Regions from separate parts of the Homo sapiens genome. Here all the other regions are linked to region 3. The links are contacts of gene promoters, found by promoter capture Hi-C in human tissues and cell types (Jung and others, 2019). All regions are on one chromosome and are shown on one strand. Each heading gives the region's core, a stretch centred on a gene start or on the middle of the fragment in contact. The rest is flanking DNA. Distances are from core to core; before and after follow the strand shown. Region 1 holds the start of ARRDC2 (arrestin domain containing 2). Region 2 holds the start of INSL3 (insulin like 3). Region 3 overlaps ABHD8 (abhydrolase domain containing 8).

Region 1 (4,178 bases), core at 500-2,999, 710 kb after region 3:
TGGAGACCAGCCGGGCCAACACAGCGAAACCCCTTCTCCACCAAAAAAACCAGTCAGGCGTGGCGGCGCGCGCCTGCAATCGCAGGCACTCGGCAGGCTGAGACAGGAGAATCAGGCAGGGAGGTTGCAGTGAGCCGAGATGGCAGCAGCACAGTCCAGCTTCTGCTCGGCATGAGAGGGAGACCGTGGAAAGAGAGGGAGAGGGAGACCAAGGGGAGAGGGAGAGGGAGAGGGAGCTTAAAAATTGTTAAATTGTTATACATTTAAGGAAAAAACAGTGACACTGGAGGGGCGAGGCCAGTGGAGGTGCTGTGTGACCTCGGGCAGAGCCCCACCCATCTCTGGGCCTTTGGGGTCCGTCTGCGAAATGAATTGAGGGAGGCGCTGGCTCAGTAGTCCCTTCAGGGTTACCTAATCCCGCTTCTCCTCCCGGACTTAACGGCCTACTGTCTCCCCTCTAGTATCCATTGAAACCTGGCCTAAGGTCCCAGACCTTCCTTTCAACTCCAAAGACCCATCCTCCCAGGCAGCCTTCCAGGCTGATCACTGTGCCTCCAACTCCGTCGTTCCTGTTCCGATCCCCATCACGGGCTGAGGGTGACCGTGTTTGTTTATGACCGCCCCCTCCACCCACACACCTCACTGAGGTGGTGGAAGTCTCCTGAGCCAGGCTCAGAGGCGGACAGTCACGGCAGGGGATGGGTTCAGCGGCAGCGCATTACGCTGCCACGAGAGGGCGCCAGCGTCCCGCAGACGACGCAGAGGCAACTCCCGCTGGAGAAACTCCATGCGACTTTTCTTTGGGGAAACTGAAGCCCAGAGAGAGGTCACGCCGTCCCGTGGCCACACCGCAGCTGTGGACCTGGGGGTGCCCGAGCGTCCCCTGCATTCAGCTCTGTGGCGGGACGGGGGCTGAGGATGACTGGAGCAGGCACAAGGGCTGCGGGGAAGGTAGGGTTTGCCAGAGGCTGAAAATTGGGAAGGGAACATCATTTCGTAGGTACCGCTCCTGGGCGAATGCGCCGAGGCGCGACCGAGTGACGGTATGTCAAGAGCAGGTTGATGACCCGGGAGCGAGGCTCTTGGAGGAGTCCAGCTGGGGCTGCACGATGATCCATGCACAACCTTCTGAGGTCAGGACTGATTTTTACTTTCTCCCGGCTCTACAGAGGTGGAAACTGAGGCTCCAAGAGGTTGTCATTTGCCCAGAGCCACCAGCTAAGCGGGACTTGAATCAGGAAAGGGGTGCAGCAGGCACCAGTGTGGAGGGCGGTCCCACCCACCTCCTCCACTTCTCCCTTTGCATAGCGGGGGAAACAGGCCTGGAACAGTCATAGGCTCTCTGGCCCTCAACTGGGGCGAGAGTCCCCCGCCCCAAATCGGGCTGGACATGCCTCGAGTCACGTCAACGAGGGGCGGCTGGTGAGTGATTAAGCCGAGAGGCTGAAGGCTCTGCTAGGTGACCTCAGGCCTGGGCCCTGCCTCTGCACCTCTTTTTTTCCTCTTTACCCCCGGGGTCCGCGAGAGACCAGCTCTGGCAGCCTAAGGGCTTCAGTTTCTCCCCGGGGTCCGCGAGGGAAGGGGGCAGCCGGCGGTGAGCAGGGGCGTTTGTTATTTTGCTCCACGCCTGGGCAGAGCCACGCCCCTTGTCGCGCTATTGGTGGAGTCCCTTCCCGGGGCGGGGAAGAGACGGTGACCCCACCCCCCCCCGCCCTGCCGTATAAAAGCGGCGCCGACGCACGGCGCGGGGATTTTCTGCTCCGGTTGGTGAGCGCGCCTGCGCGTTGACGGCGATTTTGCGTTCTGAGGCTGCAGCGTCGGCATCTTGAGCTGCCGGTTCGCGAGTTCGAGGCCAGGTTCCGCCTGTCGTGGGTTCGCACCCCGGACGCGATGCTATTCGACAAGGTGAAAGCGTTCTCGGTGCAGTTGGACGGCGCGACCGCGGGCGTCGAGCCCGTGTTTAGCGGCGGCCAGGCCGTGGCGGGCCGGGTGCTGCTGGAGCTGTCAAGCGCCGCGCGTGTGGGTGCCCTGAGGCTGCGCGCGCGGGGCCGCGCCCACGTGCACTGGACCGAGTCGCGCAGCGCGGGCTCGAGCACGGCTTACACGCAGAGCTACAGTGAACGCGTGGAGGTCGTGAGCCACCGCGCCACGCTCCTGGCGCCAGGTACGGATGGAGGACCCCTGCTCCAACACCAGTTGTGTGCCTCCCACCACCTGGACGGCGGTACCTCCGTCAGCCCTGGGACCCCAGCGCAACCGCTCAGTCGCCTCCTTTTTCTCCTACCTGCAGATACCGGGGAGACCACGACGCTGCCTCCTGGGCGCCATGAGTTCCTGTTCAGCTTCCAGCTGCCCCCGTAAGTCCTCTGGGGTGCAGGGTTGCCCTAAGCCTGCAGCCCCTTCCAGATTGGTACCTCCAATACTGGATATCTGGGCACCTCTGAGCCCCAAGACTCTCCCCCTGGGAGGCCCCCGGAGTGTCTGTGTCTCCTTCTCCCTGCCTGCTTGTCTCTGTATCTTGTCCCCTGAAGTCCCGTCCCTCCACCCTAGGACCCTGGTGACATCCTTCGAGGGCAAACACGGTAGTGTCCGCTACTGTATCAAGGCCACCCTGCACCGGCCCTGGGTCCCAGCACGCCGGGCAAGGAAGGTGTTCACTGTCATCGAGCCTGTGGACATCAACACGCCAGCCCTGCTGGTGAGTGGCCACCCTTGGGGAGGTAGGTTGGGAGTATTGTAGGAAGGGGCCTGCCTGGCTGCTGGGCGACACCAACCAATAAGATGGAGGTCATAGGTGGGCCCTGGCAGGGAGGGAGGCAGGTGTGGGAATGCGTGTGGAATCCACTGGGATCTGCACCCATTTGCCGTGTGACTCTGGGCAAGTGTCTTGAAGCCCTCTCTGAGCCTCAGATGCCTCTTCTGTGAAATAGACCAGAGCTAGGGCTTACCAAGTGTGAATTACACACCAAACACTTGGCTTATACATTTCATTTCTGGCTTTATAAGATGGGTTGTGTTCCTGGCTCTATTTAACGGATAGTTCCTGGATTGTTAAAAAGAAACCAAGCCCTGCCCAAAGTCCTCCCTCAGCTGGGGGTGGTTTGGAAGCTCCACAGCGACTGTGGTTTGCACAAAGTGACTCATCCATGTCACTTTCCTCTACACCGACAGGCACCTCAAGCGGGGGCTCGGGAAAAGGTTGCCCGATCCTGGTACTGTAACCGTGGCCTAGTCTCCCTTTCGGCCAAGATCGACCGCAAGGGCTACACCCCAGGTAGCAGGCGGACCGGACTGGGTTGGGACGGGGGCTGGTGTTGGGGTTGCAGGAGGGGAAACTGAGGCCCCACTGCTCCTTGCTGCAGGAGAGGTCATCCCTGTCTTTGCCGAGATCGACAACGGCTCCACACGTCCTGTGCTGCCTCGGGCAGCCGTGGTGCAGACACAGACGTTCATGGCCCGAGGCGCCCGAAAGCAGAAACGGGCAGTGGTGGCCAGCCTCGCGGGCGAGCCGGTGGGCCCCGGGCAGCGGGCGCTGTGGCAGGGCCGGGCACTGCGGATCCCCCCAGTGGGTCCTTCCATCCTGCACTGCCGCGTTCTACACGTGGACTACGCACTCAAGGTAGGGCATCCTGCTGGCCCTGGGGGACAGTGCCTACATTCACCCTGTATTCCCTCAGACTGGGGGAAGCTGAGGCCTCAGTCTCCCCAGGCATAGGAGGGAGGTGGGGGTTGGGGAGGCTGCCTGGGCACCCTCCCTTATGGTTCCTTCCTCCAGGTCTGTGTGGATATCCCAGGAACGTCCAAGCTGCTGCTGGAGCTGCCACTGGTGATCGGCACCATTCCCTTGCACCCTTTTGGCAGCCGTTCCTCCAGCGTGGGCAGCCACGCCAGCTTCCTGCTGGACTGGAGGCTGGGGGCCTTGCCGGAGCGGCCTGAGGGTAAGCTCCCACCCTGCTTGCATGCAGAGGGTGGGTGGATACACGGAGAGGTGGATGCCGGGTCAACTCTCTCACCACGAGTCCCCCGGAATCCCAACCAAAGGACATACAGCCTGGCAGCCCCAGAGCTGGCACAAGCCAGCTCCTGGCCCCTGGTCCCTTGGAGCAGGGCTCTCTCCTGCCAACCTCACCCACCCTGTCTCTCGCTTCCAGCTCCTCCTGAGTACTCGGAGGTGGTAG
Region 2 (3,942 bases), core at 1-2,500, 520 kb after region 3:
GCGAGGCTATGTCTCAAAATAAATAAATAAAAATAAAATAATAAAATAAAGTAACATAATTGTGAAAAGCAATACTTTTCAAAAGCAATACTTTTAAATACTTTTAAAGCTGGACACAGTGACTCACATCGCTAATCCCAACACTTTGGAAGGTCAAGGTGGGAGGATTACTTGAGCTCAGGAGTTTGAGACCAGCCTGGGAAACAGAGTGAGACTCCCTCTCTACGAAAAAGAAAAAAAAATTAGCTGGGTGTGGTGGCAGCACCTGTATCCCAGCCACTCCAGAGGCTGAGGCAGGAGGATGGTTTGAGCCCAGGAGGTTGAGCCTGCAGTGAGCCGAGATCTCACCACTGCACTCCAGCCTGGGCGTCAGAGTGAGACCCTGTCTCAAAAAACAAACAAACAAAGCAAAATTAAGGCAAAAATTCATGAAGATCAAAATATTGAAATTTTAAGACAGGATCTCACCATGTACTTGCAAGAGCCTACCTCTCCTGCCTCACTCTGTTTCTGGCCCCTCAGGGGGACTCATGCTCTGAGGACTTTCTTTTTTTTTTTTTTTTGAGACGGAGTTTCACTCTGTCGCCCAGGCTGGAGTGCAATGGCATGATATCGGCCCACTGCAACCTCTGCCTTCCGGGTTCAAGCGATTCTCCTGCCTTGGCCTCCCAAGTAGCTGGGATTACAGATGTGCATCATTATCCCCGGCTAATTTTTTTAAAAATTATTTTTAGTAGAGATGGGGTTTCACCATTTTGGCCAGGCTGGTCTCGAACTCCTGACCTCTGGGGATCCACCCGCCTCAGCCTCCCAAAGTGCTGGGATTGCAGGCGTGAGCCACCACGCCTGGCTAACGGCTCTGGGGACTTTCACACGCGCGTTCACACACACTCCAGTGCGGACCCACGATCTGTGCACGCAGCCGGCAGGTGAGCCCTGGGCACATGCATGCAAACCTGCCCACCTCCCTGCACGTGTGCATCTGCGCCTACGTGCACCTGCCCCACCTCGGCTTCCCAGAGCGCTGTCCCTGCCCGTCCCCACTCACGGTCGCCTCCGGTCGCAGGCCTCCTGGCTTCGGTGGACCAGCGGGGGCCCCCGCACACGCGCACTAGCGCGCGTACGAAGTGGTGGCCGCACAACTTCTCACGCATCTCTGGGGTGGGCGCGGGGCCCAACGCGAACACCAGGGCAGGGCCCAGCAGCACCAGCGCCCAGGCGGGCAGACGGGGGTCCATGGTGGTGGGTGGCGCCGGGGCCAAGCGGGGACCCCCTTTATAGGCGCCTGGGCCGTCCCAGCTGGGGGCCTTGGAGAAGGGACAGAACATTCTTCAGGACCGCCCAGGAAAAAGGTCAAGGGTGGGGTTAGTGCCAGAGCCTTTCTCCCAGGGCCAGGGCCTTGGATGTACTTCTCCCAGAGGGAGCACTGGGCAACGAGTCTTTCTTTTTTATTTTTTTCTTCTTTTTTTTTGAGATGGAGTCTCACTCTGTCACCCAGGTTGGAGTGCAGTGACTTGATCTCGGCTCACTGCAACTTCTGACACCCGGGTTCAAGCGATTCTCCTGCCTCAGCCTCCTGAGTAGCTGGGATTACAGGTGCGCACCACTATGCCTGGCTAATTTTTTTTTTTTTATTTTTTATTTTTAGTAGAGACTGGGGTTCGCCATGTTGGCCAGGCTGGTCTCCAACTCCTGACCTCAAGCGATCCATCTGCCTCGGCCTCCCAAAATGCTGGGATTACAGGCATGAGCTGTGCCTGGACTATTATTATTTTTATTATTATTATTGAGACAAAGTCTTGCTCTGTCTTCCAGGCTGGAGTGCAGTGATGCGATCTCGGCTCACTGCAACCTCCACCTCCTGGGTTCAAGTGATTCTCCCACCTCAGCCTCCCAAGTAGCTGGGATTACAGGTGTAAGCCACCACGCCCAGCCACCTATTTTTATTTTTTATTTTTGAGATGAGTTCTTGCTCTGTTACCCTGGCTGGAGTGCAGTGGCACGATATGGGCTCACTGCCACCTCCCTATCCCTGACTCAAGCAATTCTCCCACCTCAGCCTCCTGAGTAGCTGGGACTACAGGCCCACGCCACCACACCCGGCTAATTTTTTGTATTTTTTTTGTAGAGATGGGGTTTTGCCATGTTGCCCAGGCTGGTCTCAAACTCCTGGACTCAAGTCATCTTCCCGCCTCAGCCTCCCAAAGTCCTGGGATCACAGGCGAGAGCGACCACACCAGGGTATTTATTCATTTTTGACATAGGATCTCTCTGGGTTGGCCTGTAATGGCAGGATCATAGCTCACTGTAACCTCATTCCCCTGGGCTCAAGCGATCCTTCAGCCTCTGCCTCCTGAGTAGCTGGGACTACAGGCCTGCAATACAATGCCCAGCTAATTTTTAATTTTTTAATTTTTATTTTTATCTTTTTAGACAGAGTCTTACTCTGTCACCCAGGCTGGAGTACAGTGGTGCGATCTCGACTCACTGCAACCTTTGCTTCCTGGGTTCAAGCGATTCTCCTGCCTCAGCCTCCTGAGTAGCTGGGATTACAGGTGCCCACCACCAAGCCTGGCTAATTTTTGTATTTTTTAGCAGAGACGGGGTTTCACCATGTTGGCCAGGCTGATCTCAAACTCCTGACCTCAAGTGATCCACCCGCCTCGGCCTCCCAAAGTGCTGGGATTACAGGCGTGCACCAACGCGCCCGGCCATTTTTAATTTTTTAATTGTAGAGGCAGGGGTCTTGCTATGTTGCCCAGGCTCATCTAGAACTCAAGTGGTTCTCCCTACTCGGCCTTCCAAAATGCTGGGATTACAGGTGTGAGGCACCACACACGGCCAAGTCTTCGCTATTGTCTTAACCAGTTTAAAGAGATGAAATAGATCAACTGAAAAGTAATAATCCTGCCTTTTCTGGGGGGCAGGGGGGAAGACAGCGGGCATCTTCCAAGACCAGAAATGTTCAGAATTTTGTTGTTTCTATTACTGTACAAATGAGAAAACTGAGGCACACAGGCCAGGTGCAGTGGCTCATGCCTGTAATGCAAGCACTTTGGGAAGATGGGGCAGGTGGATCACTTGAGGTCAAGAGTTCGAGACCAGCCTGCCCAATATGGTGAAACTCTGTCTCTACTAAAAATACAAAAATTAGCCAGATGTGGTGGTGCATGCCTATAATCCCAGCTACTCGGGAGGCTGAGGCAGGAGAATCACTTGAACCCAGGAGGTGGAGATTGCAGTGAGCCGAGATGGTGCCGCTGCACACCAGCCTGGGGACAGAGACTCCGTCCCCTCACCAGACAAAAAGAAAGAAAAGAAAAGAAAAAAAGAAAACTGAGGCACAGAGAAAGGACCCCAAACTTGCCCAAGGTCACAGGAGGCTGAGCAGAGCCCAGGTCTTCTCAAGGCGCCTGACACGCAGGGCTGGGGGTGTCCCATCCGAAGCTCTGTCTCCCCAACACGGTTGTCCCCTCTGGGTGAGCAGGGGCTGGTGGACCCAGAATAGAGCAGGATTTATTTGTTCAGTGGATGCTTGGCCCCCGCTTCATGCCTAGGGGGTCTTATAGCTTTGTTTTTCCAAGGAGGGAATCTGAGGTTGAGAGAGGGAAGGATGCTTGACCCTAGGCAGGAGAGAACCTGGGCTGGAACTCGAGTCTTGCTTGACCCCAGAGCAGCTCCCTCCCTATTTCTACCAAATTAGGGGGCCCTCTGGGGCTAAGAGAGCAGGGACAGGGATCTCTCTCTCTCTCTCTCTCTGAGTCTCTCTCGGCCTTCATCTCTCAGTTTCCTTCTGTATGTCTGTCTCTGTCCGCATTTTTCTTTTTTTTGAAACGGAGTCGCTCTGTCGCCCAGGCTGGAGTGCAATGGCATGATCTCAGCTCACTGCAACCTCCACATCCCAGTTTCAAGCAATTCTTCTGTCTCAGCCTCCTGAGTAGC
Region 3 (4,350 bases), core at 1,334-3,833:
CCACGCCTGGCCTTTTTTTCTTGTCTAATTGCATAGGCTAGAATCTCTAAAACAGTGGTGCTCAACTTGCCTGGCTGTTCAATCTTGCCTTTCTTCCTGGATAAAGGAGAGAATGAGGCCACTTGGTAGTGGTCAAGCCCTGGGGACCAAGCCTTCCATGGAGGGGTTCTTGGTAAGTTTTAGGTTGTATTACCTGCCCTTTAAGCAGGAGTGAATTACAGTAACCCATGCCTTTGTAAATGCCTAGAATTTACAGGATTCCGATGAGCGCTTCCTGAATGCACAGTGTTCTCCAGGGCAGTTGATTTTTTAACTTAGTCTAAGGCAGTGGTTCTCAGCTGGGGGTAATTCTGCCCACCAGGGCACGCTTGGCAACTACTGAAGACATTTTTGACTGTCATGATCAACACTAGATTGTGTAGTTGCATCCAGTGGGCAGAAGCCAGGGATGCTACTAAACATCCTATAGCCCCTCACAGAAAAAAAATAACCTGGCCAAACACGATAGTGCTGGGATTGAACAACACTGCTTTTTTTTTTTTTTTTTTTTTTTTGGGCAGAGTCTCACTCTGTTGCTCAGGCTGGAGTGCAGTGGTGTGATCTTGGCTCACTGCAACCTCTGCCTCCCAGGTTCAAGTGATTCTCCTGCCTCACACCCCCGAGTAGCTGGGATTACAGGCACACACCATCATGCCTGGTTAATTTTTTGTACTTTTAGTAGAGATGGGGTTTCACCATGTTGGCCAAACTGGTGTTGAACTCCTGACCTCAAGTGATCTGCCTGCTTTGGCTTCCTAAAGTGCTAGGATTACAGGCGTAAGCCACTGCACCTGGCCTGAGCAACACTGCTTTAGAACAATGTGAAACAATATCAGTGATGACGGAAATCCCTGTCTGATTACATATGCTAATGGGAGTTTTCAGCCTGGTATAGCGGCTCATGCCTGTTACCCCACCACATCGGGAGGCCAAGGAGGGAGGATGGCTTGAGCCCAGGAGTTCAAGACCAGCCTGGGCAACATAATGAGACCCCCCCCCCATTCTCTATATAATTTTTTTTTGAACTTGAAAATTGGCCTGGTGCGTTGGCTCACGCCTGTAATCCCAGCGCTTTGGGAGGCCGAGGAGGGCGAATCACGAGGTCAGGAGATCGAGACCATCCTGGCTAACACGGTGAAACCCCGTCTGTACTAAAAAGACAAAAAATTAGCCAGGCATGGTAGCGGGTGCCTGTAGTCCCAGCTACTAGGGAGGCTGAGGCAGGAGAATGGCATGAACCTGGGAGGTGGAGCTTGCAGTGAGCCAGGATCACGCCACTGCACTCCAGCCTGGGGGACAGAGTGAGACTCCATCTCAAAAAAAAAAAAAAAAAAAAAAATTAAGGCTGAGCACAATGACTCACACCTGTAGTCCTAGCACTTTGGGAGGCTGAGGTGCAAGGATCACTTGAGCCCAGTAGTTAAAGAACATCTTGGGCAACATAGTGAGATGCCATCTCTATTTAAAAGAAAAAAAAATTTTAAAAATGTAAAAATTAAATTGAAAAATGGGATTTTTTTCAAGGAGAAAAATTAGGATTTTTGTTTGCTTTGTTTTGTTTTAGGAGATAAGGTTTTGCCATGTTGTCCAAACTCATCTCCAATGATCCATCCACAAAGTGCTGGGATTACAAATGTGCACCACCGCGCGTGGTGGCCCCTTTTTTTTTTTTCATGACGGAGTCTCCTTCTGTCGCCCAGGCTGGAGTGCAGTGGCACAATATGATCTTGGCTCACTGCAAGCTCCGTCTCCCGTGCTCATGCCATTCTCCTGCCTCAGCCTCCCGAGTAGCTGGGACTATAGGTGCCCACCACCACACCCAGCTAATTTTTTGTATTTTTAGTAGAGACAGGGTTTCACCGTGTTAGCCAGGATGGTCTCAATCTTCTGACCTCGTGATCCGCCCGCCTCAGCCTCCCAAAGTGCTGGGATTACAGGCGTGAGCCACCGCGCCCGGATTTTTTTTTCTTTTTTAAAGAGCGACAGGTTCTTGCCATGCTGCCCAGGCTGGAGTGCAGTGGTGTGATCACAGTTCACTGCAGCCTCGACCTCCCAGACTCAAGCAATCTCCTGCCTCAGCCCTTAAGTAGGTGGAACTATATGCGTGCACCTCCTCACCTAGCTAATGTTTGTACTTTTTGTAGAGCTAGGGGGTTCTCCCTATGTTGCCCAGGCTGGTCTCAAACTCCTTGCCTCAAGATATCCTCCCGCCTTGGCCCCCGAAAGCACTGGGATTACAGGTGTCAGTGGCATCTCAGAGTCTCCCTCTGTCGCCCAGGCTGGAGTGCAGTGACACAATCTCGGCTCACTGCAACCTCCACCTCCTCGGTTCAAGTGATTCCTCTGCCTCAGCCTCCCGAGTAGCTGGGACTACAGGCGCGTGCCACCACGTCTGGCTAATTTTTGTATTTTTGGTAGAGACGGGGTTTCACCACCTTGGCCAGACTGTTCCCGAACTCCCAACCTCAGGTGATCCGCCTGCCTCGGCCTCCCAAAGTGCTGGGATTACAGGCGTGAGCCACGGGGCTCAGCCAAAAACTCAGTATTTTGTGACTGTAGTCCCTGCTGACCCCATCCCTCACCCCCACCCCACATGCCAGGGTTCACTTACCCGTAGGAATGGCCAATGAGCACATTTCGCTTCTTGGCATAGCGCTTGAAGATTGCTCGCATGTCCTCAGCCAGCGCATAGAAGGTGTAGGCTGCGGCCACCTGGGGCGCAGAGCTGGCCCCGTGGCCGGCCAGGTCAGGAGCCACCACCTCATAGCCTAGGCGCACAAAGAAGTCCAGCTGCTCCTTCCAGATGGCCAGGGAACCGCCGACACCATGGATGAAAAAGAGCACCACGTCGGCCTGGGCGCCTTTGCAGCTAGTGATGCGCTTCTCACAGTCAATATGGATGGTCCTCTTGGGGCGCCTGGCTCGCCGCCGCCGCCCACCACTGCCACTGCCGCTGCCGCTGCCTGCGCTGCCGGGGGCCAAGCGGCCATCGCTGCCCGCCGGATCTGCCAGCTCCACCTCCAGGGCGGCCGGCGGCTCCCCAGAGCCATTCTGCCCGTGTAGGAGGTCGGCTCGAGGGGCTCGGCCCAGGTTTTCCACCAGCAACCGCCCATTGCGGTACACGGTGATCCGGCGCTGACAGCGGACCAAGCCGGAGAGGTCCCCCTGGGCTGCATCCGAGGATGCGGATGATGGTGGAGGTGGGGCAGCGGCTGGGGCGGGTCCTGCATGCTTCACCCGCAGCACGCGGCCGGGCTTGACCTCTACAAAGGTGTAGCCATCGCTGGACTCGACGCTCTCCAGTGGCCCCACGGCGTTGGGGGGCGTGCCCAGCAGGCAACAGAAGATACCGTCGGTCACCCCGGTCAGCATGGTGTGTCCTGTGAGTGAGGACAGCAGCCAGTTCAGGTGCTGTCTCAATGAGAACCCTGCACCGTGCAGCAGGCACTCCCTGAGCCTTGGGAGAACTGTTTTAGACTCCAGTTTGGGGAGCGCCAGATCAAGTGAGCCACGGCACTGAGATTTTTTTGTTTGTGTGTGTGTGTGTGTGTGTGTGTGTGTGTGTTTTTGAGACAGTCTCGCTTTGTCATCCAGGCTGGAGGGCAGTGGCCGGATTTCGGCTTACTGCAACCTCCCCCTCCTGGGTTCAAGCGATTCTCTTGCCTCAGCCTCCTGAGTAGCTGGGATTATAGGCAGGTGCCACCATGTCTAGCTAATTTTTGTATTTTTTGTAGAGATGGGGTTTCACCATGTTGGCCAGGCTGGTCTTGAACTCCTGACCTCAAATTTTCCTCCTGCTTCGGCCTCCCAAAGTGCTGGGATTATAGGTGTGAGCCACCGTGCACTGACATGTTTTGTCTGAGCAGTGCCTTTGTGGTAGTTACCCTCCTGGGTCACCCTAGTCTATCCTCAGAGAGAAAGACTTGGCTATGGCTTACCCCACAGGGTGTCCACAGGGAAGGTGGTGGCGTCTTGTGTGGGGATGTTCCTGGAGAAGGGGACATTGTGGCAAATGTGGACCAGCCGGAAGACACCCCCTCCCCCCAGCTGGAGTTTATACCATTTATGGCCTCCTAACTCATTCATTCAGGTATACACTAACTCATCCATTCAGGTATACACTAACTCATTCATTCAGGTATACACTAACTCACTAACTCATCCAGGTATGCACTCACTAACTCACATATCCCCAGGGCCTCCTAAGGCATCTAAAATATGCAAATCTTTGGTGAGCCCCCAGTGAGGCTCCTGGCTCTGAATTTGACTCCTGAAAGGTGAGGCCCTAGGAGAGGGGGATGGGGACTGAGC

Evidence for each region. The method cuts DNA at HindIII sites, captures the fragments that hold promoters and counts their contacts. A contact is called where the count stands out against the background at its distance.
Region 1: a contact is called between the fragment with the promoter of ARRDC2 here and a fragment that was not itself captured in region 3, in 1 of the 25 tissues and cell types used here (dorsolateral prefrontal cortex).
Region 2: a contact is called between the fragment with the promoter of INSL3 here and a fragment that was not itself captured in region 3, in 1 of the 25 tissues and cell types used here (spleen).

What each region holds. Positions count from the first base shown.
Region 1 is chr19:18,006,421-18,010,598 of GRCh38, forward strand. ARRDC2 (arrestin domain containing 2) reads left to right here and starts at 1,750. Exons shown (of 8, transcript NM_015683.2): 1 at 1,750-2,164; 2 at 2,291-2,357; 3 at 2,551-2,698; 4 at 3,172-3,274; 5 at 3,363-3,619; 6 at 3,776-3,938; 7 at 4,152-4,178. The coding sequence starts at 1,891. RefSeq lists an enhancer at 1,804-2,023. The HindIII fragment of the contact is 21,109 bases long and covers 1-2,935 here.
Region 2 is chr19:17,820,269-17,824,210 of GRCh38, forward strand. It overlaps INSL3 (insulin like 3), which reads right to left and starts at 1,251. Exons shown (of 2, transcript NM_005543.4): 1 at 1,049-1,251. The coding sequence starts at 1,238. The HindIII fragment of the contact is 21,957 bases long and covers 1-3,942 here.
Region 3 is chr19:17,298,206-17,302,555 of GRCh38, forward strand. ABHD8 (abhydrolase domain containing 8) reads right to left here. Exons shown (of 5, transcript NM_024527.5): 2 at 2,651-3,419. The coding sequence starts at 3,411. It also overlaps a transcript of MRPL34 not described here. Among named protein-coding and RNA genes, the nearest start is that of ABHD8, 3.0 kb to the right of the region's middle. RefSeq lists enhancers at 2,756-3,256, 3,257-3,757 and a silencer at 4,115-4,350. The HindIII fragment of the contact is 7,858 bases long and covers 1-4,350 here.